Linked DNA regions of Homo sapiens: all the other regions are linked to region 1. Evidence: promoter capture Hi-C in 16 types of primary human blood cells and fetal thymus (Javierre and others, 2016). All regions are on one chromosome and are shown on one strand. The core of a region is centred on a gene start or on the middle of the fragment in contact, and the rest is flanking DNA. Distances in the headings are between cores, read along the strand shown. Region 1 holds the start of GNL3L (G protein nucleolar 3 like). Region 2 overlaps TBC1D25 (TBC1 domain family member 25). Region 3 overlaps UXT (ubiquitously expressed prefoldin like chaperone). Region 4 overlaps USP11 (ubiquitin specific peptidase 11).

Evidence for each region. The method cuts DNA at HindIII sites, captures the fragments that hold promoters and counts their contacts. A CHiCAGO score of 5 or more calls a contact.
Region 2: a contact is called between a fragment that was not itself captured here and the fragment with the promoter of GNL3L in region 1, in 1 of 17 cell types (neutrophils). The highest score is 7.0, in neutrophils.
Region 3: a fragment that was not itself captured here is called in contact with the fragment with the promoter of GNL3L in region 1 in 1 of 17 cell types (neutrophils); the score reaches 11.7 in neutrophils.
Region 4: a fragment that was not itself captured here is called in contact with the fragment with the promoter of GNL3L in region 1 in 1 of 17 cell types (neutrophils); the score reaches 7.4 in neutrophils.

Annotation. Positions count from the first base shown.
Region 1 is chrX:54,528,917-54,531,616 of GRCh38, forward strand. GNL3L (G protein nucleolar 3 like) reads left to right here and starts at 1,303. Exons shown (of 16, transcript NM_001184819.2): 1 at 1,303-1,503. RefSeq lists enhancers at 704-1,224, 879-928, 1,379-1,438, 1,449-1,708. The HindIII fragment of the contact is 4,164 bases long and covers 27-2,700 here.
Region 2 is chrX:48,549,175-48,551,874 of GRCh38, forward strand. The region is part of intron 3 of TBC1D25 (TBC1 domain family member 25); the gene reads left to right. Among named protein-coding and RNA genes, the nearest start is that of TBC1D25, 11 kb to the left of the region's middle. The HindIII fragment of the contact is 254 bases long and covers 1,198-1,451 here.
Region 3 is chrX:47,653,680-47,656,379 of GRCh38, forward strand. All of the region lies in intron 5 of UXT (ubiquitously expressed prefoldin like chaperone), which reads right to left. Among named protein-coding and RNA genes, the nearest start is that of UXT-AS1, 3.8 kb to the right of the region's middle. The HindIII fragment of the contact is 1,824 bases long and covers 343-2,166 here.
Region 4 is chrX:47,239,407-47,242,106 of GRCh38, forward strand. It overlaps USP11 (ubiquitin specific peptidase 11), which reads left to right. Exons shown (of 21, transcript NM_001371072.1): 3 at 1-75; 4 at 384-501; 5 at 899-1,044; 6 at 1,181-1,242; 7 at 1,368-1,470; 8 at 1,871-2,044; 9 at 2,135-2,293; 10 at 2,676-2,700. Among named protein-coding and RNA genes, the nearest start is that of USP11, 7.7 kb to the left of the region's middle. The HindIII fragment of the contact is 8,680 bases long and covers 1-2,700 here.

The DNA of each region.
Region 1 (2,700 bases), core at 53-2,552:
CCAGTCTTGTGCTGGGTGTTGTTGAAAGCTTGAAGATACATGGCCCCTGCTCTCAGGGAGTTCACCCTCCTGTGGAGACACAGTCACATAAACAACTACAGTATTGTGATAAGTGCTAGCTTAGCTGTATAGGTAAGGTGCTCTGGGTTTCTAACTCATCTGCGAAAGTCAGAGAAGGTTTCATCGAAGTGACAAGAGTTAGGTCTTAGAGAAACAGAGCAAAATTGCAAATGCAGGGGGAAAGGTGAAAGTGGTCAGGGCTGGTTTCAGGTCCAGAGGAATTTCATGTGTCTCTAGGATGAGAGGTTAGAAGCCCTCCAACGATGTAGAGAGGTAGTGAGTCCTGTTTATGTAAGGGATAAAGGGACAGATGGAGTCATTTTCAGCCCGTCTGTGCTTGAAGTGGAGAAACAAACCCACCCTCGGAGGCACAGAGTTCCACCTACTCTGTGCCCCACCCCAGGGTTTAGGCTTGAGGAAGAGGAGGGGCTGGAATTAAACCATCAAGAAGAAAACATTTGCAGACTAATATTTACTATTTTGTGGGGGAGACCTCACTTCCCAGCCAGCTCCTTGAGATGGCTTCAGAAACCCCTACTTGCCCCACTCCAGAGATATAAATTCATTCCCTTCTGCAGACGCTGCTCCGGGATTGAGGGAAGGATGGAGTAGGAGGGGAAGAAGGCAAAAGGGTGGGAGAGGCTTCTAGTGTGGGAGAGGCTTCTAGTCGTTCTGGCTCCTGCTCCAGCTCGGGTTGGGTATGGCCATAGATCTGAACGTATGCAGAAAAAGCTAGGAGTGCTCAGGGATGGTCTGGGGCTCAAGGACCCGGGAAGGTGGTTGGGAATAGCTAACCAATTCACTTCAGGTGGGGAAATACTCGGCCAGACACGTGACCCAGGCGGCCATTTTCTCACACCCTGCTGTCGCCATCTTCCAGGCAGACAAAGACACCATCCCCCACCCTTGTCTGATTCGGGCGTGGTGACTGCCTGGTTATTGAGATTTGGGAGCACGCATATTTAACCCCAGACAGATGCCCGCAGACAAAATTTTGGCTTGCAAGTAAGGTATATGGCCGCACCAGTCGACCCGCCGCTTCTTCCCGGTCATTTCCCCGTCCTCCTTCTCCCTCCTCCGCTATTTCCTTAACTACGGGGCAGGCAGGAGGCGGGGCCAGCGTGGTCGCGAAGAAGGGACGGGCGGGCGTGAGCTGTCAGTCAGAAGCTCCGCCCCCCCCCCCCCCCCCCCGCGGAGACCGCACGGTGGGCGGAGTCGGGCGCCGCCGGCCTGGGATCCGGAAGTCGGAGCCTAGCTGCGCGAGAGTTTCTGCTCGCTCAACCGAGTTGTCGTGTTGCCCTCGCTTCTCAGATCCCCGCCGGAAGTGTAAGTAAGAAACTTCTCTCCTCTTTTCTCACAATGTGCGCTCACCTAGACGGCCGGGCAGTTAGGATCGTCTATTGGATGTGAAACCAGAGATGCCCGCCAACCTGGAATAGAGAGGTAAACAGCAGGATCCCTTCCAGGGTAGAAGGGACCGGAAGAGGGGCAGGGATCGCGGCACACGTGGAGACGCGCCGAATTGCCTTTTCGCGGAGTGGAGTTTGCCGGGAGAGGGGCATTGCCCCATCCCACCTAGAAAGGTGTAGACCCGGGACACACTGTGTAGAGAGGCACAAACTTCACTTGTGTGGTGAAGCGTTGATCGTCCTCAAGATAGTGAGGCTTCATTCTGCATTCACCTTGTATAGACAGGAGTCGACCCACCAAAGGCATGGGGGACATCCACCCCAACCGTGTAGAGACATCTCCCTCCACCCAGCTGAGCAGCGCAGACTTCTCCCGACTTAAGGCACTTCCTTGGCTTGGCTCTAGACAGCCGTCTCGAGGCACCTCCTCAGGACAGACAGAGGCTTTGATGTATCTGCCCCCATACCAGCATAGAGGAGCTTAGAAACATTTAATATACAGAGGGAGGGCACCTCCTCCCCATACGCGTAGACTCAGAGCCCTCAGTATCGCTCCCCAACTCACCCGTCCCCAAAGTGGTTGCAGTTACAGGCCTCAGCTTATGGACAACTAAGCCAATTGCCCCCTCCTCTTAGGTTAGAGTGAGTCCCCATTGTGGAGAATCAGACCTGATCCCTACTTCCGTAGCCCCCGTTTTACCGAATGTGTAATTTTTCGAAGCACCCAACATGCTTCGAAGCAAACAGGAACAGACCTTAATCCATGAAGAGACAGTCAGGTCTGCCCCTTGAGGGGCCGTGGGGGTAGAGGGGCTCAGATGTGTTCCTCTCCCTTTGAGGTAGACACAGATCATCCCCCTACCTCCCCCTACCTCCCCCAAAGATTTAGAATCACTAAATGTAGCAAGGGAGATACCCCACAGGAGCAGATATGCAGGTCTCCCTCCCTGTAATGTTGAGAGGGAGTGACATCGCTGATTACCTGGCAGTTCAGTGCGTATGGTCTCTCCCCTTTACCCAAGGTAGTGGAGCTCAGATCTGTTTCTCTCCACCCAGGGTAGAATCACAGACGCCCCCACCCCCAAGTATTAGGGCTGATCTATTAATTTATAGCTGCATTGCCAGCCCCCTCCACACACCACCCATGCAGAGAACCAGAGCCCCTATTTCTTTCAGTGTTAGTGTGCCGCTGACTTCAACCAGCATAAAAGATGAAAGTTGTCACAGTCCA
Region 2 (2,700 bases), core at 75-2,574, 6.0 Mb before region 1:
ACAGGTGTGCACCACCATGCCCAGCTAATTTTTGTATTTTTTGTAGAGACATGGTTTTGCCATGTTGGCCAGGCTGGTCTCGAACTTCTGACCTCAAGTGATCCACCCACCTCGGCCTCTCAAAGTGTTTGGATTACAGGCGGGAGCCACCGTGCCCAGCCCCCAACCTCCTTTCTATCATAGGTACTGCAAATATTTTTCCCAGTTGATCTTTTGTTTTTTGGCTTTGCTTACGGGATGGATCTGTTTTGTCCTATCAAAATTAAACATTTGATTGCACGCCTACACAGATATCTATCTTTTTCTTTATGATTTCTGAGTTTCTCCTTTTTATTGCAGGTGGAGGGACAGAGTTTCACTCTCATTGCCCAGGCTGGAGTGCGATGGCGCGATCTCGGCTCACTGCAACCTCCGCCTCCTGGGTTCAAGTGATTCTCCTGCCTCAGCCTCCCAAGTAGCTGGGATTACAGGCATGTGCCACTACACCTGGCTACTTTTGTATTTTTAGTAGAGATGGAGTTTCACCATGTTGGTCAGGCTGGTATCGAATTCCTGATCTCAAGTGATCCACCTGCCTGGGCCTCCCAAAGTGGTGGGATTACAGGCATGAGCCACTGTGCCTGGCTGAGTTTCTCCTATTACTTTGGAACATGTTCCCCATCCATAAGCTTATACAAATATTCTATATTTTCTTCTACTATGCTTATTGTTTTCTTTTTTACATATAAATCTTTTCTCTGTCAGCATTGTGATAAGCAGACCTAGCTTTAAAAAAATCAAGATAGTCAATTATGCCAGCATCATTTTTTTTAATTTAATTTTTTTTTTTGAGACGAAGTTTTACTCTTATCGCCCAGGCAGGAGTGCAGTTGCACAATCTCAGCTCACTGCAGCCGCCGTCTCCTGGGTTCAAGCAATTCTCCTGACTCAGCCTCCCAAATAGCTGGGATTACAGGTGCCCGCCACCATGCCTAGCTAATTTTTGTATTTTTAGTAGAGATGAGGTTTTGCCATGTTGGCCAGGTTGGTGTCGAACTTATGACCTCAGGTGATCCACCCACTTCAGCCTCCCAAAGTGCTGAGATTACAGGCATGAGCCACTGCGCCCGGCCTGCCAGCATCATTTATTAAATAATCACCTTTTCTGCAGTGATTCGAAATGCCACGTTTGTCACATATTCAGTTTCCATATATACAAGCTTGGATTTATTTCTGGGCTTTCTATTGCATTCTACCAATGGGCTCTATTTGTCTACTGCTGTGCTAACACCATGTTATTTTTATGACAGTGGTTTTGTGGTCAAATTTTTTTTTTTTTTTGAGATGGAGTCTCGCTCTGTCGCCCAGGCTGGAGTGCAGTGGCGCAATCTCAACTCACTGCAAGCTCCGCCTCCCGGGTTCACGCCATTCTCCTGCCTCAGCCTCCCTAGTAGCTGGGACTACAGGCGATAAGCTTTTGCCATCCTCCCACTGTTCTTTGTCTTAACTTTTTTTTTTTTTTTGGAGATGGAGTCTTGCTCTGTCGCCCAGGCTGGAGTGCAGTGGCACAATCTTGGCTCACTGCAAGCTCCACCTCCTGGGTTCACGCCATTCTCCTGCCTCAGTCTCCCAAGTAGCTGGGACCACAGGCGCTCGCCACCACGCCCGGCTAATGTTTTGTATTTTTAGTAGAGGCAGGGTTTCACCGTGTTAGCTAGGATGATCTCGATCTCCTGACCTCGTGATCCACCCACCTCGGCCTCCCAAAGTGCTGAGATTACAGGCATGAGCCACCGCGCCCAGCCTGTCTTAGCTATTCTTAAATGTGAATTCTTCTATAGAAACCTTAAGATAATTTTATCCGGTTCCAGGAAAAACCCCCATTCAATTTCTGACTGGCATTGCACTGAGTTTATATATTAATTTAGGGTTTGGGAAGTTTGACAATTTTATGATAAGGAAATGCGCGTATCATGAATATTATGTAATACCACAAGCAGGGTCTGGGCCAGCAGCCAAGCAGCCCACAATGAAACACTTGGATGTTTCTTCAGGGAAATGTGTGCATATTCACACTACGTGGGTTATATAAAGACTATATATAGTCTCCTGTCAGTTCAGATCAGGTTTTGCTACTAGGTGAGTTTGTGTTTGTAGACATTCTTTGCCTGTTTTTTGTTTGTTTGTTTGTTTGTTTTTTTGAGACACTCTGTTGCCAGGCTGGAGTGCAGTGGCACAATTCCGGCTCACTGCAACCTCTGCCTCCCAGGTTCAAGCGATTCTCCTGCCTCAGCCTCTTGAGTAGCTGAGATTACAGGCACGCGCCACCACGCCCAGCTAATTTTTGTATTTTTAGTAGAGACGGGGTTTCACCATGTTGGCCAGGACGGTCTCGATCTCTTGACCTTGTGATCCGCCCGCCTTGCTTCTCAAAGTGCTGGGATTACAGGTGTGAGCCACTGCGCCCGGCCTTTTTTTTCCTTTTTTTGAGAGGGAGTCTCACATTGTTGCCCAGGCTGGAGTGCAGTGGCGCGATCTCAGCTCACTGTAACCCCTGCCTCCCAGGTTCAAGCGATTCTCCTTACCTCAGCCTCCCAAGCAGCTGGGATTACAGGCACCTGCCACCACACCTGGCTAATTTTTTTTTGTATTTTTTAGTAGAGATGGGGTTTCACCATGTTGGCCAGGCTGGTCTCAACCTTGTGATCCGCCCACCTCAGC
Region 3 (2,700 bases), core at 5-2,504, 6.9 Mb before region 1:
TTGTTTGTCTCCCCTGACTAGAATGTCAGCTGTATGAGGGCAGATTTTGTTTTTTTTTGTTTCCTGCTCTATCCCCAGGGACCAGAACAGTGTGTGGCACAGAGGAGGCACCCAACGTATGTTGAATGAATAAGTGACTACTCCATTAAAAGGAACCTGAGGTTGGCTGAGTGTATGTTTAGGGACAGGAAATAAATGAAGTATGGGTGTTGTTGCCAGAGAGCAAGAATACTTTCAAGAATATTCTGGGGGTAATGCTTAAAGAACAGAAGAATGAACCTGATCAGCTCCTAAGGGACAATTTTAACATCAAAAAAGAGAACAAAATTAGTTAATGGTGTAAGCTTACCTTATGAAAACCTATGAGTTCAACACTTTAAAAGGGAGAAAAATACAGAGTTCACCAAATGCTAGCTGTAACACAAAAGGGATATGTTTATTACTGCTGATTTATTTTTATTTGCTATGTGAGAAGCAAATTACTACTGATTTAGTATGTAAGGCAGTGTGAATAGTCATATGGTTATGCTTTTTTTTTTTTTTTTGAGATGGAGTCTCACTGTGTCGCCCAGGCTGGAGTGCAGTGGCGTGATCTCGGCTCACTGCAACCTCCACCCTCCGAGTTCAAGCGATTCTCCTGCCTCAGCCTCCTAAGTAGCTGGGATTACAGGCGCCTGCCACCGTTCCCGGCTAATTTTTTGTATTTTTAGTAGAGACGGGGTTTCACTATCTTGGACAGGCTGGTCTTGAACTCCTGACCTCGTGATCCACCCACCTCGGCCTCCCAAAGTGCTGGGATTACAGGTGTGAGCCACCGCGCCCGGCCGTTAGGCTGTTTCTTCTATAATTACATGTCTATTCATGAGATGTGGATGTGTACTCCTTTCTGTGTCATCAGGAAAGAATATAGAGATTTCATCCCTTCCACTTCCCAAACAAAGAAATATACTAAGAACAGGAAGAACTGACACTTTTGATCACATAAAATGACCAGAAAGTTAGTTCAAAGTATATCCCAAGTAACCAAATATTTTTAAAGGACAGCCAGCTACATAGACTCAAATCTTCATCTCTTAGAAAAATTAAACTTCTAGACAGTCCTACTAATTACAATAAAGCAGTAAGACTCAACCATATTTTTCATCACACTAACAGACCAGGTCAGTACATCAAAAAGACCAGGCAAGGGGGCAGGCACTGACAATTTAAATACTTCATTTTGGGGAAGTACGTGGAGTCTCAAAACATTAAAATCTATTTGATAGGCTCAGGAATCCTGTGACATAACAAGGAAAGCCTTCTTATACAAACTAGACTTTAGCTGGGCGCGGTAGCTCACACCTGCAATCCCAGCACTTAGGGAGGCTGAGGTGGGCAGATCATCTGAGGTCGGAGTTTGAGACCAGCCTGGCCAACATGGCAAAACCCTGTCTCTACTAAAAATACAAAAATTAGTCGGGAGTGGTGGTGGGTGCCTGTAGTCCCAGCTACTTGGGAGGCTGAGGCAGGAGAATCCCTTAAGCCCAGGAGGCAGAGGTTGCAGTGAGCCAAGATCGCACCACTGCACTCCAGCCTGGGCGACAAGAGCAAAATTCCGTCTCAAAAACAAAGTGGACTTGGTCTAAATGACCACCAGTTCAGAATTGTGTTGACCATGAAAGCAGGCCGTTTAATTAAACTATTTGCTAATTGGTCTGAACACCAAGAATCAGAAATCTCAGCAGGTCTGAGGTTCTTTTGGGTCCACTAGCACCTGCTAGTCCTTCCCATGGCTGGAAAGGTTTGAAAAGATAAAAATTACTGAAACTCTAAGGGAGGCAACTCTGGAAAAAATGAATGTAGAACAGACATAAACACAAAACACAACCAACAAAGAAGTTTAAATCAATGGTACTCACACTTGTGAGATGTTGTTAATCTAAGTGTATTGCTCAGTGCCCCCATGCTCATTCCATTGAAACCAAGCTCACCTCTCTTGGTAGTTTCACTAGCATACCAGGCACACTATTCCTCTTGCCAGGAATGCTCTTCGCCAGATAGCCCCATGGCTTTGTCACTCAGTCAAATGATTCAAATGTCCCTTCCTCTGGGAGGCCTTCCCTAGCTACATTTCAAATCCCTCATCTATGCTCCCAACTGCCCTTCCCTGCACAAAACCGTAAATCAAGCTTGTCCAACCTGCAACCAGTGGGCCACATGCGGTCCAGGACGGCTTTGAATGCAGCCCAACACAAATTCATAAACTTTCTTAAAACATTATGTGATTTTTTTTTGCAACTTTTTTATTTTAGCTCATCAGCTATCATTAGCATTAGTGTATTTTATGTATGGCCCAAGACAAATCTCCCAATGTGGCCCACGGAAACCAAAAGATTGGACACTCCTGCCTTAAACTCAACTGGAGCCCACATTTTCTCTCCCCATCACCCCCAACACAGATCTGCTTCAATAACCACTTTAATATGCTTCCAGCATACCCTTTCAAATTATTTCAACAAACACAAAGCCGGGTACAGCAGTGCGCCTGTAGTCCCAGTTACTTGGCAGGCTGAAGCAAGGGGATTGCTTGAGCCCAGGAGTTTGAGGATGTAGTATGCTATGATCGCAGCTGTAAACAGTCACTGCATTCCAGCCTGGGCAACACAGCGAGACACCATCTCTTAAAAACAAAAACACAGAGTGTCTACTATATGCTTGTAC
Region 4 (2,700 bases), core at 201-2,700, 7.3 Mb before region 1:
CTCCCAGCAGCTGCTTGGCATTACCTGGTCAGCTGGTATGGTCTAGAGCATGGCCAGCCACCCATTGAACGCAAGGTATAATGGATGGGGAGGGTGCATGGCGGGGAGTGCGTAGTAAGAAAGCCTTGTAGGCCCAGCATGGGTACAGATCCATGTATGCTGGGTAGGTACACATATGTCTGCTCTCTTCCCCCTCCTAGCTCATCATACAGGTATCTTTGTCTGCTGTGTGTGTTCCCCTGTGTGGCTCTCTTTACAGACCATTGTATATGTGTGTTTGTATGCTATGTTTGTAAGGCAGAGTGTGTGCTCCTCTCATTTGAGAGGTCACAGCGCTGTGTCTGTGTGAGTACACCTGTGTCTGCACCCCTCTACTCTTACAGGTCATAGAGCTGCCCAACATCCAGAAGGTCGAAGTGTACCCAGTAGAACTGCTGCTTGTCCGGCACAATGATTTGGGCAAATCTCACACTGTTCAGTTCAGCCATACCGATTCTATTGGTGAGTCTAAGGGTCACGCAATGGGTTGGTGTTCCTAGCTACTAGTCCCAACTCAGTGACTTGAGGTTGCATAGGGTTAAGCTGAAGCTGACTGAGAAGGCACTGGTCAGACTTTGGAAGACCCAGAAGGCATTGGCTAAGTTGGGTGGAGGCACTGAGGGGATCTACTAGAGCCCTGAGGGTATGTGAGCTACATTCTAGTGGCTTACGTGGTGTGGCAGAGGATATTTGCTGGAGATCTCCAGTCTGGAGTGTGGGCCAGTCATTTGGAGACTGATTGAGGACACAGGTATTGGCCAAGCATGTGAGGTCCGTAGGGATGAGTCAGGTATGCCCAGATGGATTGATCATTTTGGGTCTCACAAAGATCTTGAATGTACTCCATCACCCCGCACAGGCCTAGTATTGCGCACAGCTCGGGAGCGGTTTCTGGTGGAGCCCCAGGAAGACACTCGGCTTTGGGCCAAGAACTCAGAAGGCTCTTTGGATAGGTTGTATGACACACACATCACGGTTCTCGATGCGGCCCTTGAGACTGGGCAGGTAAGGGTGGGGAGGGCTTTTCTGTTCAGGTGGACTGGCAGATAGACTCACCTGGCAGTACTCGGGGGAAATGAAGGCTAGGTACCCATAATGTCCTCCATTAATACCTTTCCTTCTTTCTCTTTCTCCAACCCAGTTGATCATCATGGAGACCCGCAAGAAAGATGGCACTTGGCCCAGCGCACAGCTGCATGTCATGTGAGCCCTTGGGGTATCTGGTCCAGAGCGGGGGCGTCCCACAGTAGGCAAAATGATTTAGCCCATGAGCACATTGCACCCCCATGCAGCAGGCCCTCAGCTGACAGTTTCTCATCTAACCCCAGGAACAACAACATGTCGGAAGAGGATGAGGACTTCAAGGGTCAGCCAGGCATCTGTGGCCTCACCAATCTGGGCAACACGTGCTTCATGAACTCGGCCCTGCAGGTTGGGCCATTATAGTTGTGTCTGGCACAGCCACGTGGTTGGGCTTCAAGAGCTGAGGATTGGGGACAGAGCTGGGGTCCTGAGGGGACTACAGGGCAAGGGGTCAGGATGAAAGCTGAGGCCCCACAAGTCTGAAGTGGCACGCCCACGTTCATTCCTGAACTATCAGCCTCTTCTCTCAGCTTGCCCTCATTTTCCCTCTTCTCTTCCCTGTTCCCACGTTCTTCCTTCTCGTGAAATCCTAATGCCTTCTCTCCCCTACTCTCCTGCTCCTCTCTCTCCTCCCTTCCCCTTCTCTCTTGTTTTCCTCTCTCTTTCCTCCTGGCTTCTTTTTGTGTATCCTCACTTTGAACCTTCTGTCTCCCCTCTGCCTCATTCACCTGGTCTCTGGCCTCTGCAGTGCCTCAGCAATGTGCCACAGCTCACCGAGTACTTCCTCAACAACTGCTACCTGGAGGAGCTCAACTTCCGCAACCCACTGGGCATGAAGGGTGAGATCGCAGAGGCCTATGCAGACCTGGTGAAGCAGGCGTGGTCTGGCCACCACCGCTCCATTGTGCCACATGTGTTCAAGGTGTGACTCAACCCTGGGCACCCCCGACCCCCTACGTCTCTTGGCTCTCCTAACTCCCTCTCTCTCTGATGACCCTGCCCATCTTCTTAGAACAAGGTTGGCCATTTTGCATCCCAATTTCTGGGCTACCAGCAGCATGACTCTCAGGAGCTGCTGTCATTCCTCCTGGACGGGCTGCATGAGGACCTTAATCGGGTGAAGAAGAAGGAGTATGTGGAGCTGTGCGATGCTGCTGGGCGACCGGATCAGGTAGGCTGCCCCCGCATTTGCAGTCCAATTAACATCACCAAGGCCTCTGCCTCGGGGATTTTCTGGCCTCCCTGGGGTATCTAACACGCCACCATTTTCTGTTAAGTTTCTCTACCTGACCTCAACTCCAGCCTTACTCTTAACCTTAGTTGCAATACCATATCTGCCCCCACAGTCAACCCAGAGTAAACCCCAGCGCAGTCTCCTGCCCTAAATGACCCCCAGTCTTGACCGTGAACATAGTCTCTGTGTATCCCTAGCTGGAGCTCTGCCTCTGGACTTTAGCAGTGGCCTTCCGCTTCACCCCATTTGAATGCACCCCAAGCCATGGTTTCCTCTTACCCTGGGCAAGCCCCACCACCCACCATGACACTATCAACAGGAGGTGGCACAGGAGGCATGGCAAA